Linked DNA regions of Homo sapiens: region 2 is linked to region 1. Evidence: promoter capture Hi-C in 16 types of primary human blood cells and fetal thymus (Javierre and others, 2016). All regions are on one chromosome and are shown on one strand. Each heading gives the region's core, a stretch centred on a gene start or on the middle of the fragment in contact. The rest is flanking DNA. Distances are from core to core; before and after follow the strand shown. Region 1 holds the start of CRISPLD2 (cysteine rich secretory protein LCCL domain containing 2). Region 2 overlaps ZDHHC7 (zDHHC palmitoyltransferase 7).

The links. Contacts are between HindIII fragments. The CHiCAGO score rates a contact against its expected background, and 5 or more counts as called.
Region 2: a contact is called between a fragment that was not itself captured here and the fragment with the promoter of CRISPLD2 in region 1, in 1 of 17 cell types (monocytes). The highest score is 5.0, in monocytes.

Annotation. Positions count from the first base shown.
Region 1 is chr16:84,817,633-84,823,756 of GRCh38, reverse strand. It overlaps CRISPLD2 (cysteine rich secretory protein LCCL domain containing 2), which reads right to left and starts at 3,772. Exons shown (of 15, transcript NM_031476.4): 1 at 3,624-3,772. RefSeq lists a silencer at 3,810-3,999. The HindIII fragment of the contact is 15,944 bases long and covers 1-6,124 here.
Region 2 is chr16:84,975,203-84,981,326 of GRCh38, reverse strand. It overlaps ZDHHC7 (zDHHC palmitoyltransferase 7), which reads left to right. Exons shown (of 8, transcript NM_017740.3): 5 at 2,042-2,138; 6 at 3,322-3,403; 7 at 4,102-4,232; 8 at 4,808-6,124. The coding sequence ends at 4,984. Among named protein-coding and RNA genes, the nearest start is that of ZDHHC7, 33 kb to the left of the region's middle. RefSeq lists an enhancer at 3,797-4,996. The HindIII fragment of the contact is 645 bases long and covers 3,595-4,239 here.

The sequences.
Region 1 (6,124 bases), core at 2,523-5,022:
GTTTTTGTCTTAGCTGATGCAGCACTCAAGACAATCAAAGATAAATCTCCCTCGGGCTGGACCATGATGTCCTCGCAGCCTTGCAAGAGGGGTCTTTGTCCAAGAGTACTCGTCATTGTACAGCCTGGGGTAGAAGGCAGGGCTCCCCCAGGGCGATGTCTCAGGATTCCCTGCCTGCTGCTGCTGTGACCCAGGTGGCACGCCAACACTGCCCACAAATGCCAAATGCCAGGGCTTCCCTGCACCCATGGAGAAGGCCAGCAACACATTCTGGAATGACATGACCTGAGTTGATGCTTCAAGAAGGAACTCAAAAAAGAGGCCACAGTCTCCTCAATAAGTTAAACATAAAGTTACCATATGACCCAGCAATTCCCTCCCAGGTAAACACTCAAGAGATATGAAAACATCCGCCCTCAAAAAACCTTGTACACAAATGTTCACAGCAGAAGCCTCTGTAAAAGCCAAAGGTGGAAACAGCCCAGATTTCCTTCAGTGGAAGAATGAATAAACAAAACGTGGTCTATTAATGCAATGGAATATTACTCAGCCATAAAAAAGGAACGAAGGTCTCATACACATTACAACATGGATGAACCTTGAAAACATGATGCTGAGTGAGAGGAGCCAGACACAAAAGGCCACACATTGTGTGGTTCCATTTACATGAAATGTCCAGAATAAGCAAGTTCGTAGAGACAGAAAGGAGATGAGCGGCTGAAGGGAGGAGAATGGCGAATGATGCCTAATGGGCCTGGGGTTTCCTTACGAGATGATGAAACGCTCTGGAATTAGTGGTGGTGGCTGCACAATACTTCCAATGTACTAAACGCCACTGAATTGTACACTTCAAAATGGGTTAAATGGTAAATTTTATGTTTATGTGTATTTTTACCACAATACATCTTTTCAGGAAAAAGAAAAACAGAACATGGCCCATCCTATTAACCACCACCCAGATCTACCTGTCCCTTGCCTGTCCCAGAACTCAGCGTGCTCTATTTAAGACTTTACAACGTGCTTTAGGTCCCTGTCCCTGGAAGGTCTGAGCATCTGTTCCACTCAATGAACTGAAGACGAAGTGAAATATGCCCAGATTGAATTTTCCTTTCCTGACAAGCCGTCAGCCCGTTTGAGTGATCCTGGGTTTGCACATCTGGGACTGATCAAAAACCAGTGCGTTTGCAAAAGAAGAAAAAAGAAAAAGAAAGAAAAAGCCTCCTGAGTCTGGCGCAGGCAGACATGCAGACACCTCCCACACACAGCAAATGACGCTGGTGACAGAGGAAAGAAAAGTTCCAGTTCCCACAGGCCAAAGAGGTCAGTGCCCTGCCTCCAAAAACTTTCTGACCTCCAAAGACGTCAGAGGGTCCTGCCTCCAAAAACTTTCAAATGCAACTTACAAAGGGCCACATACTTAATTTGTGGTCTTTTGAGGGATGAAGTGCAGAGGTTTTAAGAGACCTCGCAGTCTTCTTCCCTAGCTCAGGCCTTCCCAGTCAAACCAACTCTCCTCTCCAGGACAGAGGCAGGACTCAGAACCAGCACTGATTTGGGTCCTGGGACGGGGCTCTCAGTACCTGTCAGCAATGTTGAGCCCAAGCCCAGGGTCAGTTGATCCCCTCCCAGCCTCACCCCAACAGGGACCAGGGACCCAGATCCCTGCCAACGTTAAAAAAACTCCCACATGGCACAGAAAGCCTCAACTAGCAGCAAGCTCTGCTGGGACAGTCATGTGGCTGGTCATTAGATGGGCACCTTCCCCCAGAATCTGGGGCAGGGCCCAGCCTGGACGGCAGCTCTACCCCGCCCTGGCTGTGTCATGTTGGGCACACACCTTAATAATTCTGAGCCTCAACTAACTCCTTGTAAAAAGTGCCCAGCTAATAGAGCAGGCAGTGAGCTCATCCGTGGAAACCCTGGGCATGTCTGGTCTGTACTAAGCATCATGTAAATGTCAGCTGCTTGTATTATTACAAATGGCATTATTACTATTCCTACTCTCACATCTTAAGAAACTCTGAAAAAATCAAAATCACCCTCTTGGTTTCTCCTCCCTGGGTACATTGTCCAGTGGTTTTAACTGGAGCCCCTGTAAGACAAAACATCACCTGTGTGAAGGTCAGGTTCATGGGTGGAGTTGGCAGTGGGCAGGGAAGTGTCTTAAAGAAAGCAGGGTCAAGAGTGCAGATAGGACCCACCTGGGGGTGACAGCATTCCATACCAGCTGGGGGATCTTAGGCAAGCACTTCACCTTGCTGAGCCTCAGTTTCCTCAGCTGTGAAGTGGGCATCAAGAGGCCTACTCCCCGGGGTGTTGCAGCGATGACAATACAGGTAAACTGCGTGGCACAGACCGCGTGCCTGCCGCACAGGCAACACAGTCACACACCCACCCCTTCTCCTGAGTGGGAACAGCCAGATCAGGGGCAGAAGCAGAAAATCAGGTGCATACAACCCAAGGAGCCCTGGGACAGCCGACAGTCACAACTCATGGCCTCAGTCTACTGGAAAGGACCACGCCCCGGTCCTGTTCTGCAGGCTCTCCTCACTGTCAGACATCAGACCCTGGATGGGGAAAGCAGGCTCACCCCATTCTACCAGGGCAAGAGGTCCAAAGGCCCAAAGGGGAAACTCACAACCCCACTCTCGGTTGCAAGGCAAGCTAGGCATTTGCACGGGATGCTTCTCTCAGCCAGGGCAGCAACTCACATTTTGGCTGAGAGACGCCCAATTCAAGTTGGACTGCGATGAGCAGGCATCAGCGAAGTCCTCCCTGGCTTGTCCACCAGCCCAGCCTTAGCAAGGGAGGCTCTGGGTCTGCAGCACATGAGGGACTAGCCCTGGCTCTGTCCACGTGGGACGACCGATCTCCCCCACACTCCAGAGTGAGCCCTCCGCTTCCAGGGTAACTCTCCCCACGCAGGAGTTATGCAGGTGCCCGCTCTGGCTAAAGAAACCCAGAAACGTGTTCCCCCAGACTGCAGAACCCTGACATGGCCCCAAGTCTCTACACATCCATTTGAAGCTCTGGAGACAGACAGAGCTGGGTTCCAGCCCTGGCTCTGCCCGGACAACTTACTTCACCTCTCTGACCCTCAGCATCTTCATCTGAAATGTGGGAAGAAGGCTACCTTGCAAATGAAATCACAGAGGGGCGTGGCCCTCTAAACTGCAGCTGAATGCACATGCCACTAGATCACCCTGGTCCTCCAGACATGAGTAGGACACATTCTAATGCCTGCCATATCCATGCCATCAGCTTTCCAGTTATTGACACCCACTACGAACACAGGAATGCAACAAATGCTAGTGAACTGCACGAGGAAGGCAAGAGAGTAAACAGCCTCTAAGGAGCAGGATTCTGCGCTCAGATCGGCGTTGAATCCTGGGTCCTTGGAGTCCTGGCTGCGAGGTCCTGGACAAATGAGTTGTCCTCGCTGAGCCTCAGTTTCTCCATCTGCAAAAGGGCATGTCGCAAAGCTGTGTTCCGCTATGCAAGCAGAGCACTCGGTGTGGTGCCAGCACACAGTCAGCCCTGCGAGGTGGCATCTGTCCTAGTTATTCCAGCTTCTCGGGGGGGTAACAGTTTGCAAAAGGGAGAAGCATGGAAATCACACTTACCTCCGCAGGGCTCCAATCACCAGCTCGCTGGCGTCTCCCGCGTCCAGCAGACGCGGTAGCAGCGGCGACAGCGCGGGCACAGCAGGCACAGCGGGCACAGCGAGCAGACAGCTCAATAGGAGCAGCCGGAGACGCCCTGGGATGCGAGTGGGTGCCGGGGCTCAGCGTACCGCCTCTTGTAGGCTCCCCGGAGCCCGGAGGCCACGCCCCCAGATCGCTGGCGGCGCTGGTAGGACCGAGCATCACCGGCCCCGCCCCCGGCCCCGCCCCGCAGGCTCAGCGGGCTGAAGGAGGCGGGGGGCAGCTGAGGCGCGGGCGCCGGGTGGGCGAGGAAGGCGGGGCCGCTGGCCTCCAGGGCCGGCTAGGGACAAGGAGACGCTCAGCTCCCTCGCCACTGGCCACACAAGCATAGTTTTCATTGAGCGCTTACTATGCGCCTGGCGCGGTGCCAAGCGCTTCCCACAAGGGGCTTGCAAATTTACCAAACCCCAGCTCTCTGCAGCTCAACTGGAAAATAGGAATAAGGAGGCGACCTCCCAGGATTTTAGCAAATGAAATCCGCAAGGGCTGGGCGCTGTGAACTGTGGCGCGGTGCAGAGTACACAGTTACTGAGGTGACTCCCACCCTCTACACGTGCTCAGAAAACTTAGGCCCCCTCTTCCCAATTTGCAGACGAAGAAAGGGAGACTTGTTTCCGGATGGGGCCGCTAGCGCGGGGATCCAGGCTCCGCACTTTACCTTCAACGACCCTAGGACGCGTTCCCAGGAATCCAGGGAGGTGGAAATCACCTCATTTCACAGATCCAGTAGCTGAGGCTTGGAGAAGAGCGTGCCCCAAGTCCCGTAGCTAGGAGCAGTGCAGCATGTTCATATCTCTTTTGCCCGGAGGCATTTAGCATTTTTAACCTGTGCAGGTACATACGGAAATCAATTTAGAGCCAGACGAAATCACCTTTGAAACAGGTAAATCCACGTTCCTTAAGAGCTAAGGGACTGCCCCGTGCTCCCGCCTCAGTCACAAAATGTGGACGGGTATGCAGGCACTGCGCGGTAAGGTGCTGGGGCCCAAGGGCAGGAGGGGGCCTGTCCGCACTGCTCATCTCCGCACCAAGACACCGGAATTAGCTCCTCCAGCATTAACTCATTCCCCAAATACCCATCGAGTCGCTCTGTGCCGGGCCCTGTGCTATACAGCAGGCACAAACAAGACACCTCCGGGATCTCAGAGTCTGGGGCCCCCACGAGCTAGGGCACGTGGGAGAAACAAGGATGGGGAATGGGTGGAACAAGGACTATGGAAGGCTGCCTGCGTGACGTGGACTCAAACAGGGAAGGCTTGCCTAAGATTTTGGTGCGGCTCAAATGCAGATACAGAATAATGCAGACTGGCCGGGCGCGGTGGCTCACACCTGTAATCCCAGCACTGTGGGAGTTTGAGGCGGGCGGATCACCTGAGATCAGGAGTTCGAAACCATCCCGGCCAACATGGTGACACTGTCTCTACTAAAAATACAAAAATTAGCCGGGCATGGTGGTGCATGCCTGTAGTCCCAGCTACTTGGGAGGCTGAGGCAGGAGAATCGCTCGAACCTGAGAGGCAGAGGTTGCAGTGAGCTGAGATGGCGCCATTGCACTCTAGCCTAGGAGACAAGAACAAAACTCCATCTCAAAAAGATAATAATAATGCAGATGTTTTCTGTTATCTTTTTTTCCTCTTTTTGTTTTACTTTTCTCAGTCTTTGAAGCATCATTCTTCAGAGGCACTCAACTGGCATGCAGTCATCCAATAATTAAGCACCTACTATGTGCTGGGCTCTGTTTCAAGCACTGGAGGGCTCAGTAGTGAATAAGACTGTTCCAGAACAACAGTCCTTGGATTGACAAAAGACAAATCCAAGGGGAGAAGAGATCTGTGTTAGCAGATGCCTTTGGAGGCCTGGCACGATGGCTCAGGCCTGTAATCCCAGCACTTTGGGAGGCCCAGGCAGGTGGCTTGAGTTCAGGACCAGCCTGCAACATGATGAAATCCAGTTGCTACAAAAAGTAGCCAGCATGGTGGCATATGCCTGTGGTTCCAGCCACTCAGGAGGCTGAGGTGGGAGGATTGCCTGAGCCTGGGAGGTGGAGGTTGCAGTGAGCTGAAATCGAGCCACTGCATCCCAGCCTGGGTGACAGAGCAAGACCCTATTTCAAAACAAAACCAACCAACCAAACAAACAAACAACAACAAAACAGATGCCTCTGAGTACCTGACCCCAAAGCATTATACTGCCAAATCCTGCCACCCCCAACAACCCTCCAGGCTGGTCCTGTTATTAGCCTCATTTTTTCAATGATGGAACTGAGCACAGAGAGTGTAAGTCACTTCCCTGAGGCCACACAGCCTCTGAATAGAAGAGCCAGGATTTGAATTCACACTCTCACCCACGTGGCTGCCATTGCCTGTGACCATGAAACCTTGGGTGCAGGGGAATGGAATGAACTGGGTCCCTACTCCATC
Region 2 (6,124 bases), core at 2,668-5,167, 160 kb before region 1:
CGTGCTCTCAAACACCAGTTACTGTATTTTTTAAAAGCCACAGTCCAGTTATCTGCCTGGCTCAAGTAGCCTTCCTGGCCCTCACACCTCACCCCTGCTGGTCTTGGTTGCATTTTATCCTCTTCCCCCACATTTGCCAGTTCCTGACTCCTTTTTCTGCTCCTGGAGGGGCTGGCTGTTGATTTCACGTGTTGAAGTGTGAATGTCTGGGTGTATTTCTCCATTCCTTGAAATAGTTGTCACACGTCCCTGTACTGTGTGACAGGCTGCACCTGGACAGTGCCCTTCTCCTGGGGGGTCGTGGCCTGCTTGAATAGGCTGGAAGCCATTGATGGCCTCCAACGGGAGGAAACCCAGATACAGGGTGCTGACTGCTTTATGGCTGGAGTGAAAGCTTTAAGAGATTCATATCCTCATGGTTTGGCCAGAAAGTAAAGAAAGATGAAATGGTATCGGAGAGTAAATGGGTGGCTGTTTTGGGCTGGGGTTAGAAATAGGCAGTGACTGCATATGGGGTGAGGTTTCTTTCTGGGATGGTGGGAATGTTCAAAAATTAGATGGTGATGGTCTCACAACTCTGCAGATAGAATAAAAATCATTGAATTGTACATTGCAAATGGGTGAACTTTTATGGTATATAAATTTTTTGGGGATGGGGGGATGGAGTCTTGCTCTGTCGCCCAGGCTGGAGTGCAGTGGCATAATCTCGGCTCACTGCAACCTCTGCCTCTCAGGCTCAAGCGATTCTTGTGCCTCAGCCTCCCTAGTAGCTGGGATTACAGGCGCCCGCCACCATGCCTGGCTGATCTTTGTATTTTTAGTAGAGACGGGGTTTTGCCACATTGGCCAGGCTGGTCTCGAACTCCTGACTTCAGGTGATCCACCTGCCTCGGCCTGCCAAAGTGCTGGGATTACAGGCATGAGCCACCTCGCCTGACCTATGGTATATAAATTATACTTCAATAAATCTGTTGAAGATAAAATGGGAATGTTTTGGAAGTCAGGTGCTGTGGAGGTCGGGCAGGGAGCCAAGGTCAATGAATAAGAAGAAGGTGACGCTATGGGCGGGTGCGGTGGCTCACGCCTGTAATCCCAGCACTTTGGGAGGCCGGGGTGGGCGGATCACGAGGTCAGGAGATCGAGACCATCCTAGCTAACACGATGAAACCCCCATCTCTACTAAAAATAGAAAAAAAAAATTAGCCGGGCATGGTGACTGGTGCCTGTAGTCCCAGCTACTCGGGAGGCTGAGGCAGGAGAATGGCGTGAACCCGGGAGGCAGAGCTTGCAGGGAGCTGAGATTGAGATTGCGCCACTGCACTCCAGCCTGGGCGACAGAGCAAGACTCCATCTCAAAAAAAAAAAAAAAAAAAAAAAGGTGACGCTATGATAGCAAGTCTGCCTGCAGCGAACCTGCTGCCATCGATGTCTGCTTGATGTAATTAAATGGTGCAAGCTTGGACTAAAAAGTAATCGATAATCAAATTAGTTATTTAAAATTGGACATACAGAGTGTTTTGGGCAAAAGTAAAATACAGCTGTTAAAAACAAGACGACTTCATGCCTGGGTGTGTAGTTGATGATTCAAGATGAATATGCAATCCATACTGCATATTCATCAGTGAATATGGATTCAGTGGTAGGAATTATTTGAAGATACAAAGAATGTTTCTCCTTGAGGGTAAAATTTCAGTTTTTGTTTTTTATTGAAATAGACTTGTAAGCTTGCAAAATTAGGAACATTACTGATAGGTGTACATGATCCAGCTCTACTGGGGGAGTGTCTGAGAACTCGTGAAGTATGGCTTAGTTTGACCTTTCGCCCCAAGCTGTTGGTCCATTGAGTATTTTCCTTAGGAAACGGAAGACATTTAATTAAAATGATAAACCTTAAAGGAATATAGTGAGAATGTATGATATTTTTTGACATGTTGTATTAGAATATACATTCTAATTTTCCTCCACCTTTGATTTTATTTGGTTGTGTTACTCTGGTTTCCTCAGAGCATGGAATACTGAAAAATCAAACTCTCCTTTTCAGTATTTGCAAAAGATGTATTCGGAAAATGGATCATCACTGCCCGTGGGTGAACAATTGTGTAGGAGAAAAGAATCAAAGATTTTTTGTGCTCTTCACTGTAAGTAAAAATATTTTTGTATTGAATTTACATTGAATTTGAAATTCTTTAACTGCTTCTTGCCTGGAGCAGAGAAATCTACTAACGTCAGGCCAGTTTCTCTCCAGCCTTTTCTCCAGGATTCAAATTATAATACTGTGCTGTCATTGGCAGGAAGTAGTCCCAATAAGTAATATGTTGCTTGTATTATTTTAGGTGTTCACTGTAATTTAATTCTCTCCCAGATGTCCTCAATCGCTATTGTTTATTAATAATAACAGGAATCTTCCTAAAGTATGTTAGAGTTTATTTCCTTTTTCTTTTCTTTTTTTCTTTTTTTTTTTTTTGAGATGGAGTTTTGCTCTTGTTGCCCAGGCTGGAGTGCAGTGGTGTGATCTCAGCTCACTGCAACCTCCGCCTCCCAAGTTCAAGTGATTCTCTTGCTTCAGCCTCCCAAGTAGCTGAGATTACAGGCATGTACCACCACGCCTGGCTAATTTTGTATTTTTCGTAGAGATGGGGTTTCTCCATATTGGTTGGGCTGGTCTTGAACTCCCGACCTCAGGCGATCCGCCCACCTCGGCCTCCCAAAGTGCTAGGATTACAGTCGTGAGCCACCGTGCCCGGCCGTTTATTTTTTTATAGACGGGGTTTTGCTGTGTTGCCCAGGCTGGTCTTAAACTCCTGAGCTCAAGCCATCTGCCCGTCTTGGCCTCCCAAAGTGCTGGGATTACAGGCGTGAGCCACCATGCCCAGCTATATTTTTCTATAAAATTATTCTACTTGGTCTAATATGATCTTGGGTAGGAAAATGTCAACTGCTGCCATTTAATCCTTCCCTCATTTTTTTCTCTGACAAGATGGAGGTATACACATGATGTGTCATCAGCCTTTGCTCTTAGAAAGACTTGTTTAAGTTACTAACTGGCTGGGTGGATCACTAGAGGTCAGCAGTTACAGACCAGCCTGGCCAACATGGTGAAACCCCATCTCTACTAAAAATGCAAAACAGTTAGCCGGGCATGGTGCTTGTAGTCTCAGCTACTTGAGAGGCTGAGGCAGGAGAATCGCTTGAGTCTGGCAGGCGGAGGTTGCAGTGAGCTGAGACTACGCCGCTGCATTCCAGCCTGGACAACAGAGGGAGACTCTGTTTCTAAAAAAAATAAAAAATAAAAGTGACTAACCAATCTCCCCCTCATTCTAGATGTATATAGCTCTGTCTTCAGTCCATGCTCTGATCCTTTGTGGATTTCAGTTCATCTCCTGTGTCCGAGGGCAGTGGACTGGTAAGTTCCCTGGCTATGTGTCATTCCTGGCTTTGCATGCTGTTATTGGATGAAAGGGGAAAGCTTTAAAGGAAGAACCAGTTTTCCAATTTTGAAGGAAATCATTGCAATTATTTTAGCAATTGAATTTTAAAGAATTTAGTTAAGTTTTAACACCACCATTTTACTAGTATATTGTTGCCCCAAAAGCTTGTGTCTGTCTGCTGGTCAGCTAGCTCGCCATTGTTCAAAGCAGGCTTCACGTTGCTTACGTGAGTGACCGACCCTAAGCAAGTGTAGTGAAAATAGGTGCTCGTTATCCTACCTTAGATATGCAGTGAGGTCTGGACAGGCTCATCCCACCCCAGGGGAACATGGTGAACAGACTCCTGTGAGCACTGCTCACTGGTATGGGTGCACACAACTCTTCTGGTCTGGCTTCATTTGCCATTTAATTCATAAATACAGTGTCAATAGAAACCTCAGAAAATACAGACTCTTTTGAAACCACTGGCCAGGAAGTCATGGTATGAATTTTTGCTTGGAAGGGTGGCCCTCCTCTGCTCCTTGGAGAACAATGAATGTGCCCATTTAGAAAGTGAACAACTTCCCCCTGGAAGCTGGCCAGGGGCTGGCCCTAGAGGATTCTTCTCTGAGCCAAACATTCTGCCACTCGGGGTATTCAGGACCAGTTATAACCAACTTCCTCTTGTCCGCAGAATGCAGTGATTTTTCACCTCCGATAACTGTAATCCTGTTGATCTTCCTGTGCCTTGAGGGTCTTCTGTTTTTCACTTTCACTGCAGTTATGTTTGGCACCCAAATCCACTCCATATGCAACGACGAGACGGTAAGCTTTGTTCTCGGCTGTGTGGACTTCATATGTGGTCCAAGCTTGAGTAAATGAAAAGTCCTAATGTCAACAATAGGTGCCTGTGGACTGACTCGGGAACGTAATGGGACGGTCTTGATGAGCTGCAACCAGCTCCCTGTGTTTGCTGTTTCTTTCATTCTGGGCAGTGCATATTTCTAGTCTCAGTTTGATTTGCAAGTCAGCAGAGCCAGGCAGATTCCCAGCTCCCAGTGCAGTCAGTAAATTTCAGGGAACTGACTGCCTTTAGGGCCTGGCTCTGCAGGCCTGGAGTGGCGCTCAGTAAATGTCTGTACACAGTAACTAACGAGCGACAAATGTTGGTGCCTGGCTGGGAGGGCCATTGTGGTAGTCTGGGCTGGCCACGTGGCTGCAGCCGGGCTGGGCTCACAGAGGCCACGGGGTCTGGATCGGGGCAGAGCTGGGAAGGAGAGTTCACTCACCTACCCTCCATCGAGCCCACACTGTGCTTGAGCACGGTGTGATTCTGAGGCTTGGTGGGGTCTGCCGAGCTTCCTGGAGCCGCTGCCACTTGCTTTTCTTTCTGCTTCCAGGAGATCGAGCGATTGAAAAGTGAGAAGCCCACATGGGAGCGGAGGCTGCGATGGGAAGGGATGAAGTCCGTCTTTGGGGGGCCCCCCTCACTCCTCTGGATGAATCCCTTTGTGGGCTTCCGATTTAGGCGACTGCCCACGAGACCCAGAAAAGGTGGCCCGGAGTTCTCAGTGTGAGGCGTGGCTCATCAGACTGAAACTTGCTCACAGACTTCCAGTTATTTATTTGGGGTCTGAAGGATATCAACAGCTCATCTGTGACCAACAGGGCAACTGGAACCTACACAAACCAATTGCTTGCAGCAAGCAGAGTTTTATATATTTATAGTCACAGATGGCAGAGGAAGAGGCTCTCAGTCCCCACCTGTACAACAACGGAAAGGTGTGTGGCCACACGAAGAAGCCAAACGCCGTGGCCTCCTGCAGAGCTGGGGCTTCTGTGGAGAATACTTCGGGTTATTACATGGGTTATTCAAATCCTGGGTCCTGAGCTGCTGTTTCCAATCATGAAGAAAAACAGTGAATCCAGTGAACAGGGATTCTCCAAGCAGTCATTTCAGGGGGCTCCTGCTGACCCCGCCACTCAGCAGTGCACTCCCCGGATCACAGCAGGGCGTTTACATAGAAAGACGTTTTGGTCTCGATTAGCTCCGATGCTTTGCACTGAAGTTGCAAAAGATCTGTGCACTGAACAGTGAAGGTGGCTTCCGGCACACTCCCCGCTGCCCCGGAAGAGACATCCTTTGACCCTCTCAGCAAGTCTGTGTGTGTGCGTGTCTGTGCGTGTGCGCGCGTGTGTGCATGTGTGTCAAAATTGCCAGTGTTGTTTAGGCAATGTAACATTTACCGGCTGTGTACAGCAAACAAGCTATTTTTTAGAAACCGACGTTTCAGGGAAGAGGGGAGAGAGCCGCGGGGTCCTGCCCGTGGTTACTATGAATGTATTGCTGTTGGAGGACATCTCGATCCAAAGAACAGCCGTTCCTGTGCGGCCCTTCGTTGCCCTCCTGCTTTCATTTTTTAAAGAAATCTTGAGTGCTTGAGGGCCTTGGAACTGATTTTTTTTTTTTGTTCCAGCCAAATTAGCAGTGTATAAATGGCACCTAGGTAAGAGCAGAGCTGCGGCTCGGTGACTTGATACTTGGGGCAGCCCGATGCTGTGTGTGGGGCAGGGGAGGCATCCTTACTGGAGAGGCAGGGCCCAGCCATTGGGCACCTCTGGGAAGGGGAGGGGACCATGAGGCAGCCAGCCCCTGGCAGGGGCGACTGTGCCACCGCAGGCAGCGCTCCAGTCGGGAATGGCCAGGATGGCGCCCT